7 separate regions of the Homo sapiens genome follow, and regions 2, 3, 4, 5, 6 and 7 are each linked to region 1. Evidence: promoter capture Hi-C in 16 types of primary human blood cells and fetal thymus (Javierre and others, 2016). All regions are on one chromosome and are shown on one strand. The core of a region is centred on a gene start or on the middle of the fragment in contact, and the rest is flanking DNA. Distances in the headings are between cores, read along the strand shown. Region 1 holds the start of ZNF648 (zinc finger protein 648). Region 2 has its middle 35 kb from the start of CACNA1E. Region 3 has its middle 17 kb from the start of CACNA1E. Region 4 overlaps CACNA1E (calcium voltage-gated channel subunit alpha1 E). Region 5 has its middle 15 kb from the start of LINC01686. Region 6 overlaps CACNA1E (calcium voltage-gated channel subunit alpha1 E). Region 7 has its middle 7.2 kb from the start of RGS16.

Region 1 (2,564 bases), core at 26-2,525:
GTATGAAGAGGGAGCAGTATGGAGGAATCCTCACTTTCTGCTCTGGATACAGAAGCCATGGATGGAGGGAGGACACATTGCAGTTGTGACTGGAATTCAGCATCTCACGTCTCTTTGTGCCCTAAAGCCCAGGGACCACTCCTCTTCTCTCACTGCTTCCCTCACCCATCACATGGCAGAGGGTAGCTGGCATGCCTTTTGACAGGAGCCCAGATCTGACATATTTTCAGCATAGTGGATCTTAGGGAGTGAATGTGTAGTTCATAGAGGGGACATACCACTAGCCAACCTCATAGAACTTGCTCAGACCAGCAGGCTTGATCCGGGGCTGTAGGTCCCCCAGCAGGGACAGCAAAGGGATGCTGGATTTGTATGAAACACATGTCTTAGGTCTCTTTCCCTCTTTACGACAACATACTGCCTGTTTCTGTGGCACTGTTCACAGATCACTGACTTTACCCGCTCCCCACCCCACCTCCAGCACAAATACCCCATTTTCCACAGTCTGTGTGTCATTCTTTTCCTCTGGGCCACAGGGGAGCCTCCTTAGGGTGGCACACAGCCCTCCACTAGCTAACCAATCTCCTCTCCAGAGCCCGTCAGGAGACTCTCTTTTCAGATGAGGTATCCCTCCTCCATCTGAAGCCATATCCCCAGTGAATATGTCCTGCTTTCTTCCTCCTGTCGCTGCCACACGCATGCTCTCGACCACCAGGAAGACCTGGAGGCAGGCAGGGGCACAGGGAGGGATTTTCTGGCAAAGTCTGCACAAATATACCTGGTCTGAAAGAGGAACACTGATGCCATGGTATGGCGGGCCTCTCTGCTCCCCAGATGTGCTAGTCCCCAGAGGCTGTCAGAGCAGTCCTTTGCTGGAACTTCCTCTGCACTTGCCAGCCAAGAGTGGACCAAATGCAGCCTTTGACTCCCCAACCTCATACATCCATCAACACTCTGCAGAAGCCTACCCTAAGGGCTTGTTGCAACCCCAGCCCATACCCCTCTTCTTTCCTTCATTCTTTCCAGATTGTACTGAAGTCCATCCTAGGCAGCCGCCTCCTACTTTCTTCTCTGCTCACCGCCTTCAGGCCTTGCTCTCCACTCCTGGCTCACACACAGACGGTTGCTTACCTGGGAAATGCAGACAGCAGTGTGGGGCCTCTGCCCTGGCTTCTGTGACACGTGGGCTCTCAGCAACAGGAACCAGTTAGGTACAAATCAGCAGAGATGGTGTCTCTGTCTCTCACGCTTTGTGTCCAGTCCAGCGGCTGCAGAGAGAGCCTCTGGAGGTGGGGCCAGTGTAATACACTCAACCTTCCTGCCTGCATCCAGAGAGCAGCCTGGGAAATAGAGTGGGGCTGCCCTCTCTCACTGCCTGAACCGATCCTCTGGCTCCCTCTGCTCCTGCCTCCCCTCCCTGCCAAAGCCAGCCTTCCTCCTTCCCTCCTCTCAGTCTTCCTGCAGGTGGCCCTATGCCTCTTGTTCACTTTCACTCCTTCCTTCCACAGAGCAGTCCATCCTTCACTTTAGCCCTGGTATGCCCATGGGCCACATGTCACTTGTGAGCTTCCTGGGTAGCATGCTTTTTCCCTCCTGGAAGGCAGAACAGAGTATTTGGCCTATATGCCCACCTCCCTATTCTAGTACCCACCTTTTGCAGGACTGTGAGTTGCAGAACTGTGAGGGGTTGGGATTCCCAGAATTCTTTGTAGCAGCCCATTCATTGGCTCAAAGATGCCCACAGCCTTTTAACTGGGAGTAGGGGTGCAGGGAGATGGTTTTCTGTCTTATGCATACAGATGCCAGGCCTGTCTGGGGTCTCTTTCCACTTTCAGCATTGATTCCCATGCAGGTTCATTTTGAAGAGAAGGATTGGCCCAAGGTAGAAGACTCAGTACATTCAGAATTTTTACCCACTCAAGTCTAATGTGCATTTATTAGGATGAACATTCAGGGCATTAAAATAGGTGATGGAAGTGTGGTTCCTGTGATGTCACTAGGTGGTCACAAAGTATACTGATTGACAGCACGGTCTGGGTCTGGGTTTGAATCTTACTACTTACTAGCTGTGTGATCTTGGGCAAGTTATTTAACCTCTGTGTGCCTTAGTGTCTCATCTGCAAAACAGGGACCAGGATACTATTGCCATCATGGAAGTTTGGGGAGTATTAAATGAGATAATGCATGTAAGGAGCTTAGTTCGGTGTTTGGAACATAGCAAGTACCCAAAAACGTTAGCTGCTTTCATTGTTATTATTGACGATTTTTAAAAATTTTAAGTTCCGGGATACATGTGCAGGATATGCAGGTTTGTTACATAGGTAAACATGTGCCATGCTGGTTTGCTGCACCTATCAACCCTTCCTTCACCTAGGTATTAAGCCCGGCATGCATTAGCTATTTTTCCTGATGCTCTCTCCACCCCGCACTCCCCCAACTGGCCCCAATATGTGTTGTTCCCCTCCCTGTGTCCATGTGTTCTCACTGTTCAGCTCCCATTTATAAGTGAGAACATGCGGTGTTTGGTTTTCTGTTCCTTTGCCAGTTTGCTGAGGATAATGCCT
Region 2 (2,564 bases), core at 18-2,517, 610 kb before region 1:
TGTGCCTGTAGTCCCAGTTATCCAGGAGCCTGAGGTGGGAGGATGGCTTGAGCCCAGGAGTTCAAGGCTGCAGTGAGATATGATTGCACCTCTGTACTCCAACTTGGGCAACAGAGTGAGACCATCTCTTAAAAAGAAAAAAAAAAAAAGCAGTTAAATCTACGTATAGATAGTAAAGTGTTTTAGTTTTTCTGTTACTGCCTTTACAAATGACCACAAATTTAGTAGTTTAAAAAAACTCCAAATTTATTATCTTACAATTCTGTAAAGCAGAGACCTGGTATGGGCCTCCCCAGGCTAAAATTAAGGTGTGGGCAGACTGTGTTCCTTTCTGGAGGCTCTCAGGGAGAACGTATTTCCTGCTCCTTCTGGCTGTTGGCAGAAGTCAAGTCTTGTGGCTGTAGGGTCGCAGTTTCCTTCCCTTGCTGGCTGTAACCTAAGGGCTCTTTCATGCTTCTGGAAGCTGCTGCATTCCTTGGCTTGTGGCCTCTTCTCTCCATCTTCAAAGCCAGTAATAGCGGGTGGGGTCTTTCTCATGCTCTGTCTTTTGAACTCACTCTTTTCTCTTCATCTCTGCTTTTAAGAGCTGGTGTGATTAGATAAGAGATTATGTAATTAGTCAGACCATGATAATCCATGATAAATCTCTTCATTTTAAGGTCAGCTGATTAGCGACCTCAATGCCATCTGCAGTCTTAGTTCCCGTAATTTACAGGTTCTGGGGATTATGATGTAGACATCTTTGAGGGGGACATTATTCTGTGTACCACATATGATTTCTTCATTAAACACAATACATGTAATTTAAATTCTAGAGGTTACAATGGGGAGGAGGTAAATTAGCTTTTTTTGAGCACCTACTGTATGCCAAACCTCATGCTAGATCTGCACATGCATCCCCTCATTCTAACATCTCAACAACCAGATGAGATAGATACTATCCTTGTTTGATGATGAGTTAACTGAGGTTTAGAGAAATTAACTAACTTTCCTGAAGTCCAAAAGCTAGTAAACGTAGGAGTCAGGACTCAAGCTCAGGTGGCTAAGATTCCAAATCTGAATGTTTCTCTTTCCACCACATCATATTTTTTCTCCTGGGATCTCAACTAAAAGCCTCAGAAGTAATCACTTATTTAAATGTATGTGTTTCCTCCAGGTTCGTTATAGTCTGTTTGAAGTCTGAGTTTGACGTAGATAGATTACTCATTTCCCCTACTCCAGCCTCTGATAAGCAGCAGACCAATTGTATATTACCACAACCTGGGAAAAGAGAGATAACTGATAAAGTGAAGAGACTTTGTCTCAAGGCCTTTGGTGGGGCTGAGCTCTAAGTCAACTAAGTGGCTTAAAGTGGAACCAGGCATCTTATCCCTGCAGGGCCTCCCCTGGGTGTGACAGGTGGAGGGCATACCAGTCGGAAAGCTGGTCCAAGCCTCCTCTGTCCTGCTCATCTCAGCTGCCTGGGACTCTGCAGAGAGGCTGCCTGGGACTCTGCAGAGAGGCTGCCTTTGGTCAATTCAAGCTGCCCCAGCCAGCACGGTTGACTGGCACAGAACGGCCTGGAGTGGCTGTGCCAACTCAGTCATAATGGGAGGAGCTGTGCAGAGAAAGACCTTCCAGGAATTGAGGGTGCAAGGAGATAGGATGGGGCAGATATGAGCGGCAAGTTTGGTGGGGCCATTGGCAGGGCCACATCTGGAGGCCTCCCATTCTGTGAAACACCCCAGCAGTGTGTTAATTGATTTATTTTGAGTGCAGTTTGTTTGGATGTGGGTAGACTATTGATGCTGTGGCACTTTGGAAGCTCACGTTTCCAAGCCAGAGATACTTCATTTGTGTCTGAATGAGAAAAATCTCAAGATACATGCCGTTCCATCCCTGAGATGCCTGCCACAGTACCAACTCATGGAGGCTGCAGTTACTTCAGTCTCATATACACATATATGTGTGCTCACATACACACTTTTAAATAATGTGATCGGCTTATGTCCTGCTTCAGTATTCTTGCTCTTTTCTTCCAATTTGGGTACTGCTCTGACAGGCTGGCAGCACACCACAATTCTGTCTTTGCACATTGATTGACCTGACTCTGACATATCAGGATTGCAAATTACTAACTTGCTTTTAGGCCCTGGCTCCTGAGGAATTTATAATGTCTATTGGGATCTCTTCTCCCCCTTAGCTTCTGCATTGAGAGTCAGAAGTGTGCATGAAGTGGTGTTGGCTTCTTTCTGTTTGTATCCAGGAGGGTGGGAGGCCCCAGGAGAGCAGACATCTGGGGCTTCTTTCTGTTGCACTGCCAATGCCTATCCACAGATGACCTTATGTGAAGGTGCTAGGCTGTGAATTCCTTTGTTTTATTTCAGGAAACATTGATTAAACATCTATTTTGGATATTCAAAGACAAAAAATGACCAACTTATTTCTCAATTAAAATGGCAAATGCAATATAGTGTTATCATTGCTATGGGGAGTGGTTGGGAAATATAAGGTATTATAGGGGCACAGGGGCACATAGGAGGGTGCCTATATTAGTCTGTTTTCACACTGCTATAAAGACATAC
Region 3 (2,564 bases), core at 29-2,528, 600 kb before region 1:
TAGAAAATTTATCCTACAGATCTTCAAATATTGTCTTTCTGCAGTCTCTATGATCTCTTTATAGAAGTCCCATTAGATATATTTTGGGTCTCTTCATTCTGTCTTCCATGTCTGTTAACTTTAATCATATTTTCTCTATTTTTATCTCCCTGGGCTGTATACTGTGGAGTTTCCTCATATGTGTTTTCCTGTTTACTGACACTCTCCTTAGTTATATATAATCTAATAGTTAACCTATCTATTGCCTTTAATTTCAATGATTATATATTTTATTACAAGAAATTTTGTATTTGCCACTTTTTCAAATTATCTTTTTTTCATTTCATTGCATTCTATTATTTTATTTCTTTACATATCTTTTCTATTATTTCAAGTACTGGAGCTTTAATCTTCTTGTTCTTTGTATTAGCTAACTTATCCTTATGCTGATTATTTCCTTGTGTGCTTCAAAAATTTTGATTACAAGTCATGTTTAGTAGTGCTTGTTTTCCCCATGGAAATGCAGTGTACTCAGGATTGTGAGAGTAGCCTAATAGAGTAGTTTTGTTTGGTTTTCTTACTTGACCCAGGGGTGTTATTTTCTTGGCCTAAGTGTTCCTGAATCCCGCTGAACATGTAAATTCAGCCCATAAATCCATGTCACACACAATCCTGAGTTTTGATTTCTCAGGGTTTTGCTTTTTCTCATTCACTCAGAGACAGAAGCTTCCTTGTTATCTATTTTTGCTGTAGAGTTGATTTTCATGCAGTTTATTTAACTGAAGGTACAGTTCTTTAAGGGTTATAGCTTAGCGCAGAATCTTAGTTCCAACTTCTGTCCACATAAGGTCTAAAGACCTTATCACTTCTCTTGAGTGGACATTAAAACTTACCCATTAGGCTGGGCATGGTGGCTCATGCCTATAATCCCAGCACTTTGGGAGGCCAAGGCTGGTGGATCACTTGAAGCCAGGAGTTTGAGAACAGCCTGGCCAACATGGCAAAACCATATTTCTACTTAAAAAAAAAAAAAAATTAAGCCTTGTGTGGGTGGCGTGTGCCTGTGGTCCCAGCTACTCAGGAGGCTGAGACATGAGAATCGCTTGAGTTTGGGAGGTGGTGGTTGCAGTGAACTGAGATGGGGCCACTGTACTCCAGCTTGGGTGAAAGAGCGAGACTCTGTCTTAAACAAAACAAAAAATAAAACAAAGCAAAGCAAAGCAAAACAAAACAAAACACATAAAAAACCCAACCCATTAAATCTTTGTTACCAGGACTAGTTACTGCCTATGGGACAGCTGCAATTTCAATTCACACGCTTCCTCCTTTGTATTTCAATTCCTCCTAGGGATTTCCTTTTATATCTTTCAAGTTCAGCAATATATCTTTTCAAATATATTTGAAAATATATTTCTGTACTTTATCAGTTTTTCTAGAAATGTGTAGCAAGAGATTTTCTTATTCTGCCATCTTTCTAGTACTGAATCCTTGAATGACTTTTACAAAGAGAATAAAATAGGAAAGCATAAAATAGTCCCTGGGAAATACACACAGTCTTCTAAGACTTGAAACTAGATGTTCCTAATGGAGAGGTTAGTAAGAGTGCCGGACACAGCACAGGGGAAGATTTGAGGAAGGAAGTGGGTGAGAAACAGCAGTGCATTAATGGGCAATTACTTTCTGCCCCCTCAGATGGTACGTGAGTGCTTAGCTAATGGCAGTTCACTTAGAAAAGTGATCATTGGTAAGTCCTTACCAGCAGCTCCCAAAAATATCTTGCCTGAAGTGATCGAGCCTTTTTAGGAAACGAAAGATCAGATTCAGAAAGCAAGGAGATGGTTCTCAAATTCTAGTGAAGACAAATTCTAGAAGAAAAGCTTTCAAAGGGTGTTGTTGACCAGAGAAGCTGAAGGATTCAAGCTTTCTTGTAGCTTTATAAATAAGAAGGGAAAGAAAACAGAATGAAAAGCAGGGGATGAGGGTACACAGGGTTGAGTTGAAAGCATGAGTGTAGGAGTTTTCACTGCAGACATAGCTGATTTGAGGGGGAAACATTGTTTTGCAGGGCTTGTGACCAAATTTCTTAGGATCCAAAGTGTCAGGAGAAATCCTATTTATTTGAAATCTAGTTGATAAGCCTTAAGCTGATTATGTCAGGTTGAGGTCACTTTTTCTTTTCAGCTTGGGTTGTCCCTTCAGACTCTGCTGTCCCTTCAGTTTCTTTTATCTTAAGGCATGGAGCCCTGTGCAGGCCTATGAGACCATCAGAAAAATAGAGGTGCAGCTCTGAGTTCACTCCAACTCTCAAAGGCTGTGACTTACTAGATATGAGGGAGAAAATGAAAGTGTACATAGTGAGGCAAATGCATTCCACTGGGGTTCCTGCATTCCTGGTCATGATGTTGATGAGTCCTATGAGCTAGAGCAATCTATTTAATTATTCTACACCAGGAGTCTCAACTGGGAGGTGATTTGGGCCCCAAGGGTCATTTAGCAATGTTTGGAAACATTTTTGATTGTCACAGCTGAGTGGGGGAAGTATATCTGGTGTCTAGTGGCTACAGGCCAGGGATGCTGCTGAATAT
Region 4 (2,564 bases), core at 48-2,547, 570 kb before region 1:
AGGTTTGATGTAACTAGTGAATCATGAGTCAAGATGCCTTGATTAGGGAAGATGATGGCAGCTAACAAGGATGAAGTCTGTAATTATATCCTATGATCAGATAATGCAGAGGGGTTCATATCTTCTGTGTACCTGTGCGTGGATGCAGATGGTGAAACAGATAGTGACTGCAGCTGGTACTGGAGCTGTAGGAGAAAGTTCTTCATTTTCTGAGCATCCCAGGACAATCTCTGAATTGCCTGTTGGCTTTGCTTTTGATATGAAGTGTGGGTAATGTTTCATGTGGAAACCAGGCCATGACTTGTTGTGGGGACCATTTATAATTGGGATGAAGCCTGAAAAATGAGTTGGAGTGAAGGAATTTGACAGAAATGAAATGACTTGAGGATAGAGACAAAAATATCCTCAATGTGATAGTTTTGTCTGTTGGTTTGCATGTCATTATTTCTCCACTTCCCTCCACTTGCTTTTTCTGCAATAGGCGCAGTGCATGCTATGAATTAAAGGAGGAAGAGGAAAGTAATGAGAACAGGCCTGCTTTTTTTTTCTTCTGAAACATCCAGACTCTGAAATTATTAGCTCCATCCAAAATTACTTATCTCTTTATAGCACTGCTGTACAAAATGTAGGTGTTTTTCCCCCTCAAATTCTGCTGCTTTCCCCCTTCTTTATAGGAACATCTGGTTTCTTTCAATCTTCATATTCTTAGTGAAAATAAAACTGAGTGAAGCTTTGCTAAGCTCTCAGAACTCTTGCAAACCCTTGACTCCATGTGTTTGATGAGCAGGTCAGCCACCTCCCTTACGTCATGCACAGGGCTGCCTGGAAAGCTACAGCTCACCAAACACCAAAGCCCAGATGTGCAATCCAGTCCATCAATGGTGACTCTGCTGATCTTATTTTGCTTATCACTGACCACAAAGACATAAAAGAGGAAACCTAAATGCAACTCTAATTAATATCCATTTATTCAGAGAGAGAGAGAGACCAGGTCTTTACTTTCTCTTTCTGCCCGTCTTTTCATCTTTCTATATTTCTCCCTCTCTCATTTTTAGGTTCAGCCTTTGTGAATAATTCATTATATGTGTGGGTTTTTCCTAGGATTTTCAGAAAAGGAAGGTTATTTGTCTTCCTCTTGGGTAGGATTATTAAGGTCTCTCACAGAGGACCAACTTCAGGAATCTACTTTTTCTCTAAGACCTTTGTTTTCTGCAGTGGGACTGTCACACAACAGAAAGGAAGCTGGGGAGAAATCTTGTAACCTGCTTTTTCTTGTCATTTTTATGATGACTGCCTCCTACCCAGCCCTGTTACATTTGAGTGCCCCCAAAATATGCAACTACTAGCCTTTTCTACTCAGAGACTGTGGTTAAGTGGAAGGTACGTGTCACTCTGAATCCTCTCATCATCTTGGGTTTTCACACTGATAAATGCTGAACGACTAGGCTAAGGAACAGTCCTCTGTAACCATTTCTTTTCAAATTCCAGTGTGAATTTTTACAGGAATTACAGGGAGCAGGGGTAGTTATGGGGACCAGGCATGGAAATTAGTGTCTAACACTCCGCCACCACTACCACCACCACGATGTGGCTTCTAAAGCAGTCCCTTCCACAGAGGGATAGAAACATGAGGGGCTTGGATCAATGTTACTTTTCCCAAGCCTTCTAAACATGCACAGAGAGGATGCACGTGTGGGTTCACCCATCAGTCATGTTTCCAGCATCAATCTTAATTAAGGACAGAAGGTATAGCACAAAGTTTTTAGACTCCCCCAACCTCGTGGTTTCTTAGTGTTAAGGTTATTGCAGAGAGATGTTTATGGTGTATCTTTGCTCACTGAGCACCCCAAATATGTTTCCTTATAAAGCTTGACGAGCCCCAGTGTCCTCATCTCTGGAAAGCAGGGAGCAGCTAGAAGATGTGTTCTTATAAGGTGAAGATGGGCCAGATTAAGGGGAACAGCAATGAATGACTTTAAAATGTGTCGGTTATCCAAGAGATCCTCCCTGCCACCTCCCAGAGCAGTGGGTACTTCTTAGGAGCTTCCTTTATTGTATCTTGAGCTCCAAATTTGTAGGACTAGATAGTTCCACCCTTAATCCTCTTACTTATTAAAAAAAAAAAAAGGAGCCTCAAATAGACCCATTTGTAAAGCAGTAGTTAATCCCAGAAGCAGGTGGGTGGGGCTTGGGAATGCTATGCCCAGCTAGGCTCCAGCCACGCTCCAGCCACGTGAGGCTTCAGAGAGAGGCCCTGCCTGGCACCTGTGCCAAGCATGTTTTTTTTTTTTTTTTTTGCCTGTGGGTGGTTGATTTGAATCACTGTTGCAACTCTGCATAATCTTGAGGCTATATTTTTGTGTGTGTGCTGCATTTTGTCTTTTGCTGCATTTTTGCTGCATTTGGGCTGCATCGGTTCTCTTCATCTCTGGAGAATTTGGAAAGCCTCCTTCAGATATATGCCTGAGCTTTCCAAAGACTTGTGTCATTAAAGGGGGGTGTCATCTTTCTTCCCTTTGGGGGAGGGATTAAAAAGGATGTAGCTGGATGGTAGGTAGCAGGCT
Region 5 (2,564 bases), core at 19-2,518, 570 kb after region 1:
ACCTTAATCAAAGCAGCTCCCTTTTCATTTTAGGTATTGGAGTTTTAACTAAAATTTTCTTTAACAAAAGGATTTCCACCCTTTTAAAAATCTCTCCACTGAACTGTAAATTCCTTGAAGATAGGAATCATGTATATATTATTCTCCTTTATATCTTTAGCTATATACAGTGCCTGTGTACATTGTGAACACTCAATAGAAACTTTTAATTGAAATAAATCAACCCAAACGTGGACTGGAAAGATGGGCTTTGTTCAATTTAGCCAAATCTTACATAAGATGTATTCCTGAGTGTCCAATCTGGGTCAGGCTCCAGTGAATGGAGAAAGGCTCCTATTGGGAGTGAGATCAGAGGCCTTCTCCTGCAGCTGGCTCCATAGGAAGCAGTAATAAAAGCATCGCCTTGCTCTTATGTAACCTTTTACTATTTATAAAACACTTTCATATACCTTATCTCAAAAAAGAGCTCCCAAATATCTTCCCTACTCACAAAGACACAAAGACAAGCAAATATCCCAGAGTTTCAAACATAAGGAGGGTAGGGGAGAGAAGACAGGCCGCATTTTCAACCAGGACAAAATTCAGCTCCTCTTGCATGGTGAGCAGGGCACCCAAAGGGCCTTGTGATTAAACTCTTCCTTCTCTCCCAAATTCTGACTGATGCTTAAAATCTCACCAACTGTTATCCCCAACTTGGTGTAACTGAGGCTTTTGTCTCAGCTAAATGCAAATGTGGCTGTTGTGATGGGCACACATTAGTCACCCTCCATTTACCACATAGTGTGGCAGGATTGGCTCTGTGGAAAGGTCAGTAATGAATGGCAGGGATATTTCTAACTGAGCTGGGGACCTCCAGAGCCACCTTGCCCTCTGAAGTCTCATAACTGTGCCCTGGTCAAAATCCGCAGACACCACCCCCGCCTCTGAGTTAGACAGGCAGGGGTGACCTAAGATACAGGATGCCCTTACTTCCTGTCTGTGGCAGCGGGCAACACCCACCACCATCAGTCACCTCCACCCCCACTCCTGGTTTCTGCACCCACATTTTCACTGTTTATCTCTGGATAACCCCATCTGACCTAAGAAACTGTGGCAAGTCTGTTTCTTACCTAGAAAATGAATATTTGGAGACATTCAATGGTTAGATACTGTGAAGATTTTTTTTTTAAGTATATAAAAAGCTTAATTAGCACCCTGGCCAGCACATAATGGGTGTTCAGTATATCTCTGTTTTGAAAATAAATGGCAGAATTCACTCCAGGCTTCCTGTCTGTCCCACAGACCGAATCATGCTGCTGGACTGGGCTAAGTCACATTTTTGATAAAAAGAGGTAACTTTCTCCAGCCAAGCCTAACAAGCTTTAAAAGGCCTATGGTTTATAAAATCACCAGTGCCCCTCATCAGCCCTCTCCCCCAGTTTCCCTCACCATCAGGGCTCTCCAGAATTGCTGTTCAGTGATCTCTTTTCCCTCCTGGGACTGCTCTGATTGTCCTATTTCCTTGGTTCCATGTGGCACACGGTTGAGAAAAGAGGCACCTGTGCGTGTGACTTGTCACATCTTTTCCCAGCGTTCTGCTCCCATGGATATGGGGCTCAGGAGGCATGGTTGGGAATCAGGAAACTGCTTCCAACCCCATGACAAATGTCACCTATCTGTCCTACCAATTTGTCAGCATTGAAACTCAAAGTGACACTTTCCTGCCAAATCTAGATAAAGCCATTTCCACTCCAGTCGGAGTGAGTGTACCAGCCAATCTCCCAGAGGGAAACTAGGGTTCTGGAGAGGATATGGGGTTCAGATTCAGCAAATGTTTTTGGAATGTCCACTCTGTGCCCAGCATTGTGTTGGTTGTGAGTATGTGTGCTTAGTTTACATTCCAAGCATTCCAAGTTGCATTACACAGATGAGAAAAGCAGGGCTCAGTAAGGCTAATTAACTTGCCCACCTACAGCCAGTGAGTGAGAATCTCAAGATTTTACAAGATTTTATAGCTCCAAGTTCCAATCCAAGATACTTTCCATTAAGCCCATGGATGTCATTTCAGGTGCAACCTCAGACCACCTTCTCCAGTATCCTCCTAGAATATTACAGATCACACAGTCTCTCTCCCCTCTGAACACCAAGAGCATGGCCATGTGTCCTTTCCACCTGTGAGTGAGCCTCACAAAGGACTGGAAGCTACCTAGGCTCAAGAGTTGTGCCTTCTTTCATCCACTGATGGAATGCAGGGCACACAGGAAAACAAGAGTGTACTGGGGGCACTGAATAGTCTCAAAGCCTTCTCATATATCCTGTTCCCACAACTCTGTAACATAGGACAGGGAAGATTTATTTGCTCTGGGGTGGAGCAGGAGGGTAGAGGAAGGGAGGGAAGAAATGGAAGGAAGTTAGTGGGCAATTTAGGATTCAGCCCTAAAGGATCAAAGCACTAAGAATCCTGAATTATGGGAAGCATGATAAGGTCCCTGCTTGGCTAGGAGAATAGAGAGATTAACTTTATTTTTGAACACCTACTGGATGACAGCTAGTGCATTAGTAGGTCATGATGTACATTATCTCAT
Region 6 (2,564 bases), core at 20-2,519, 540 kb before region 1:
AAGTGATGTCACTGCCTCAGACTCAGCGACAGCACCAGCTGTTCCTGTGCTGCTGGAGCAATTTAGTCTCCTTTCCCTATTTCCCTTGTGTCTCTTTGGGTTCAGGCCAAATGGAGAAAAGTGTGTTATCCCTTTCCATCTAGGAAGTCTTTGTTTTCCATTGTATGTTAAAGTATTGGTGACATTACAGAGCTAGTCTTGAGTGTTGGTAATATTGTCTATTTTCCTAAGAAAACCCCCAAATCAGCTCAAAATATGCTCTTTCCTGAGTTTTGTCAGCCTTGCGTGGGAGGTGACCTGCGTTGGCTCTTCCCTTTACTGCGGAGCACATGGTGTAGACTCTGGGGAGGGGCAGGTGTGTCTGTGCCTGGCTCTTCCTCCTTCCTCTGCCAAGGTCATCACCCCAGGGCCTAGGAGGCCCCTCAAGAGCTATTGCTGAATACCCACTGTGTGCCAGGTACTGTGTTTGGTGTGGGTGGAATGGGGCCTAGTGTCTTCCATGGTGGTGGGGGCTGGAGCCACGCAACATGAGAACGTGAAAGGGTGTCCAGCCTGGCCCTGGGGCACTGGGGAAAGCTTCTTGAAAGAAGTCACATTTAAACAAGTGGAAAGGATGGACAGATGGAACTTAGCTGGGCAGGGAAGGAGAAGAGCCCTTCTGGGAGAAAGAATGCTATGTACAAATGCCCTGTGGGGGTGGCACATGGAGAGAGGCACACAGACAGACCACAGGACACTTCTGGAAGCCTGGCAGGTGGCATGGGGAGAGACCTGCAGAGGTCAGCAGGGGCCAGTCTAGGCCATTCTGAGTAGTCTGTACTTTAACCAGAGGGCAGTGGGGAGCCACGGAAGGCTTTGAGCAGGGGGTTCACTATTTCACTGTTTCACTCTGAGTCTGCTCTGGATGTGGCACAACTCTTTTTTCTTTTTTACCCTGGAATCAACTCTGAGGAAAGCCATGGAAAAAAGTTGGAGCCATCTCCACATCCTTAGCTGCAGTTTGGGAGAATGTGCAGAGCCAAGCAGAAAGAGGGGAGGCAGAGGAAAAGGGAGCAGGGGAGAGGAGAGCCAGGGAGTGCTGCAGTAAAGCTGGGAGCTGCCGTCCTCATCCCCAGCTTCTCGCCAGTGGCACATGCAGAACGATTTAGCCTGAAGCCTGTTGGTAGGAGGATGCTATCTAGAGCTAAATATATATTGATAGGTATTTTTAGAGGGTTTTCTGTAAAGAGGCTGCCCTAATACAAGAGTTTCCTGAGCAGCTAAAGATCGAGGAAAGCAGAGTTTTCCTCAGCACTGTCTCTCTGAGGCTGAGAATGTGGGGGAAGAGTTGTGAATGCAGTCCTCAGGCCCCCAGCCCAATTTGAATCCCTGTGGTAATAGTATGATATCAGTGGGTATTTATATAGCATCACCAGGCCAGTGAGCCTGGCGGGACCTCAGAGACCTGTCTTTTACTTGTCCTTACTGTTCTGGGCAGGTGAAGGATGCAGATGGGGAGCAAGGGCAGAATGGGTAGAGGGAGGAGACATGAGAACTTGTTATTTAGGAGATGGGGAAACCGAGGCTGAGTGGAGCAAGGCAAGGGACTCAGAGATACTTAGCTGAGCTGCTAGATGAACAGATATTTATTTAGTGCCTTAATGCTAGGCACTAAACCTGGCATCAGCATTATTAATGCTGATGTTGGGGAGGTCTGCAAGCCTGTAAGCCTTACCACTTTTCAGTTCTTCCTCTCAGCATCGTTGCTGGCTGCTCCTCTGACAGATCTCCACCTCCTCCCTGGCTTTTTGTGCATTTCTAGCTCCACACTGGGGAGCACAGCTGCCACTTGCAGCATCTCCTTTTATCAGAACATTATTTCTGTTCCAATTGCATTTCCCCCCAGATGGGCAAATGATGGAAAAGATAAGGTTAGAATATAGGATTTCGATTCCAGGGAGAGGTGGGCAAAAGACAAAATGTGAAGCTTAAAGGTCTCTTCTTAGCTCTGTGCTGCTGATAAATCCAGTTACTTCAGGGAGACTCCTAGTGAGAGTGCCAGTTAGTAGTTGATGGGCAGCTGAGTTGGGATTGTGCCTTGGGTGGGAGGGAATTTTTTCTCATGTATGCACTCTGTCTTTTTTCTATATTGAGATGCACCATTGGTTCACTCAACAGATATATATTGAATATACACTGTGTTCCAGATGTAAGACATTGGTGTTGGGATGGTTTCTGTTTCCTGAAAGGCTTCTTCTTGCCACCCCCACCCATTGACAGAAGCTCCATATGGACAGAACTGAGTGGGGCCTGAATTGGCTTTGATATCACCAAAGAGGAGGAAAAGCCAGAGGGAGTGAAGAAAGCTTCGAAATCCCTGGGTGGTTTGGTTTGGGACTTTATTTGTCTCCTGGCATTGCATTCACTCAGGGTGATACAGGGAAAGAAATTATGGCAAGGTGCTTTCTAAGTCAGACCGTTCTCCTGGGCCTGGAGCTCTCATTTGAAGGCAGTTAAACTCGTGCATTCTTGTGCTTGTGCATGAGTGTATGTGGAAGAGGGAGGTGGGGTGAAAATCCCCAGGT
Region 7 (2,564 bases), core at 26-2,525, 540 kb after region 1:
ATTTGAAAACAGCGTTGGCTGACCTGGTTTCCAGGAATCCCATGGTCCCTCTAATACCCTGGCTTACTTAATGCCTCCAGCCTTCCATTTCTTTTTCTGAAATTCTGGAATGCTGTAAACATCAGACAAAATATGGTACTGAAGCAGCTAAAAAAAAAAGTAGATTTAGAATCCTGAGTTGAAATTCTGATCCTGCCATTTTATTCAAGAAGTCAAAAGACTTTTTGACTTGACTAATGCCTACTGTATACAAATCACTGTGCTAAGTACTGGGAATCAGATAATAATAATAGCCAATAGTCATGAGGCATTAACATTGTGCCGCACACTTTTATTTCATTCAGTGTTCCCTGTGACGCTTACTCTTATTATCCTCATTTTACAGCTGAGGCTTAAGCAACTTTCCAAGGTGAATGGCCAGGATTCCAACCCAACATTCCGGCTCCACAGCTGGGACTGGAGAACTGCTTTGCTGTAGTCTGTTCTGCCCCATCTCACCAAGGTGAATAATATGACCCTGACTTTGAAGAGCTCAGTTTAATAGGAGAGCAAAAGCCATGAAGAAAGAAGTTATGGAGGAATACCATATGTGCTACAATCAAAGTAAGAACACTGTGTCTTAGAATCATGCAAGTTGGGAGCAATTAACTCTGTACAGGGACATCTGGGAAGGCTTCACTGAGGAGGTGATGTTTTTGCTGGATTTTGAAAGTTGGCATTCTCCTCCTCGCACCTCAACCCCCAATTTTTTCTAAAAAAGAGGAGAAAGAGGTGTTCTAGGCAGAGAGAACAGCATGTGTAGCCACAAAAAAAAAAAAAGAGAGAGAGAGAGAAGGGAAAAGTCTGAGAATGAAGGCTGTCCAGGCAGGAGATACGTCTGGAGAGGGACTTGGGTCAGGTCAGAGACCCCCTTGTGTGTCAGGATTAAAGCTGGACTTTATTTTAGAGTCAAAAGTGAACCGCTGAGGGGTTCTAACGTAGCCACAAAGTGCTCAGATCTGTGCTTTAGAGCTGAAGACTGGCACAGTGTGGAAAATGAACCAGCACAGGGAGAGGCTGGGGTAGGGAGACCCGCCGGGAAATTGTGGTATCTGATTGGAGAGGATGAGAGAGTCCTCTAAGGAAGCCTTGGTGAGCCTGTGCAGAAGCTGGACCCAACGCATTTGGGTCTGAGGGATTTCGATGCACTCAATACATGCATGTTAAAGGCATAAAGATGGAAGGAGAGCAGTAGGAAAGGGCGAGTGTTAGTACCTCCCTGTCTTTCTGGGTCCTCCGCTCTTCCTTCCCTTATCAGTCACATTCCTCCACCCATCTTTCACAGACTGGACTCCCCATGGCATAACTGAGTTCAGATCCCCATTCTGCCACTCACTGGCTGGCTGCCCCAAGCATGTCCCTCCCTCTCAGAGCTTGTTTCCTTCTCTGGATGATAAAGTGTTCAGACCCACTCCACAGAGCTGTTGTAAGGACTAACAGAGCTCAGGGCCTGCCACAGTGTTGGTCCCTGTCTTCCTTCCCAGGCCCTTAATTTCAGGATCCTCCCTGGTGTCACCCACAGAATCCCTCCTTAGATCTGTGCTTAAGATGTGATTCTATGGGGATTTCTACCCCATGTTCCTGAAGTCTGATCACTTTACTCAGACTATCAATAGGGAAGAAATAAAGGTTCATTTAAGGTCCAGATCTGTGTATAAACAGATCATTCAACAGAGAAGAAAACATTTTTTTAAGTAGTCGTAATCAGAAAAAAATGAGAGGGATTCAGTAGGATGAAAAAGGAGAACAAGCAGGCAATTAGCAGAGGAAGAACAGATTTTGATCCTTGCAAACCTACCCCCAGGGTCTCACTGTGTCCCCCAGGCTGGAGTGCGGTAGAGTGATCTCAGCTCATGGCAGCCTTGACCTCCCCAGCATAAGCCATCCTCCCACCTCAGTCTCCCAAGTAGCTGGGACTACAGGCATGTGCCACCACACTCTGCTAATGTTTGACTTTTTGTAGAAACTGGGTTTTGCCATGTTGCCCAGCCTGGTCTTGAGCTCCTGGGCTTAAGTGATCCACCCTCCTCAGCCTCCCTCCCTCAGTGCTCACAGGCATGAGCCACCGCGCCTGTCTCCGTACCCCCAAATTCTTTCAAGCACAGTTCAACCCTTATTCCCTTGGCCCATGGAATGGAGCAGCCTCATGTACAGAGTGGCTTCATATACCTCATCTCAGATACTTCTATGAAATTATAAAAAGAATAATAATTTCTTGAATATAAATTACAAAAGATTTGTAATTGAATTTAATTACAAATTACTTTTAAAAGTAAAAATCCTACAAAAGTCACCACCTAACTGATGATGTCTTGCTACTTGACCAAGGGGTACTGACCCCTGCACTGTTACAGGCAGAATTGGAAATGGCTCATGCCGAGTCCCAGCCAGGTGGGCAAAAGATACGGGCTCTGAAATGACAGTGGGCTGAGCCCAGTCCAATCCACACAACAGCCCAACACAAGTGGGGCTGTCACGAGCTTAAAAAGTCACTGATCATAGCAGCCTCGTTAGAACCTATCCCT

The links. Contacts are between HindIII fragments. The CHiCAGO score rates a contact against its expected background, and 5 or more counts as called.
Region 2: a fragment that was not itself captured here is called in contact with the fragment with the promoter of ZNF648 in region 1 in 1 of 17 cell types (total B cells); the score reaches 5.3 in total B cells.
Region 3: a fragment that was not itself captured here is called in contact with the fragment with the promoter of ZNF648 in region 1 in 5 of 17 cell types (M2 macrophages, endothelial precursors, M0 macrophages and 2 more); the score reaches 7.7 in M2 macrophages.
Region 4: a contact is called between a fragment that was not itself captured here and the fragment with the promoter of ZNF648 in region 1, in 11 of 17 cell types (naive CD4 T cells, M0 macrophages, M1 macrophages and 8 more). The highest score is 11.3, in naive CD4 T cells.
Region 5: a fragment that was not itself captured here is called in contact with the fragment with the promoter of ZNF648 in region 1 in 1 of 17 cell types (erythroblasts); the score reaches 5.9 in erythroblasts.
Region 6: a fragment that was not itself captured here is called in contact with the fragment with the promoter of ZNF648 in region 1 in 1 of 17 cell types (neutrophils); the score reaches 6.3 in neutrophils.
Region 7: a contact is called between a fragment that was not itself captured here and the fragment with the promoter of ZNF648 in region 1, in 1 of 17 cell types (erythroblasts). The highest score is 5.0, in erythroblasts.

What each region holds. Positions count from the first base shown.
Region 1 is chr1:182,060,437-182,063,000 of GRCh38, forward strand. It overlaps ZNF648 (zinc finger protein 648), which reads right to left and starts at 1,276. Exons shown (of 2, transcript NM_001009992.1): 1 at 1,132-1,276. The HindIII fragment of the contact is 14,548 bases long and covers 1-2,564 here.
Region 2 is chr1:181,447,401-181,449,964 of GRCh38, forward strand. It overlaps a transcript of CACNA1E not described here. Among named protein-coding and RNA genes, the nearest start is that of CACNA1E, 35 kb to the right of the region's middle. The HindIII fragment of the contact is 3,369 bases long and covers 1-2,564 here.
Region 3 is chr1:181,465,383-181,467,946 of GRCh38, forward strand. It overlaps a transcript of CACNA1E not described here. Among named protein-coding and RNA genes, the nearest start is that of CACNA1E, 17 kb to the right of the region's middle. The HindIII fragment of the contact is 1,151 bases long and covers 704-1,854 here.
Region 4 is chr1:181,488,265-181,490,828 of GRCh38, forward strand. The region is part of intron 1 of CACNA1E (calcium voltage-gated channel subunit alpha1 E); the gene reads left to right. Among named protein-coding and RNA genes, the nearest start is that of CACNA1E, 6.0 kb to the left of the region's middle. The HindIII fragment of the contact is 1,138 bases long and covers 729-1,866 here.
Region 5 is chr1:182,628,936-182,631,499 of GRCh38, forward strand. No RefSeq gene overlaps it. Among named protein-coding and RNA genes, the nearest start is that of LINC01686, 15 kb to the left of the region's middle. The HindIII fragment of the contact is 178 bases long and covers 1,180-1,357 here.
Region 6 is chr1:181,516,578-181,519,141 of GRCh38, forward strand. The region is part of intron 3 of CACNA1E (calcium voltage-gated channel subunit alpha1 E); the gene reads left to right. Among named protein-coding and RNA genes, the nearest start is that of CACNA1E, 34 kb to the left of the region's middle. The HindIII fragment of the contact is 1,390 bases long and covers 575-1,964 here.
Region 7 is chr1:182,595,886-182,598,449 of GRCh38, forward strand. No RefSeq gene overlaps it. Among named protein-coding and RNA genes, the nearest start is that of RGS16, 7.2 kb to the right of the region's middle. The HindIII fragment of the contact is 2,709 bases long and covers 1-2,564 here.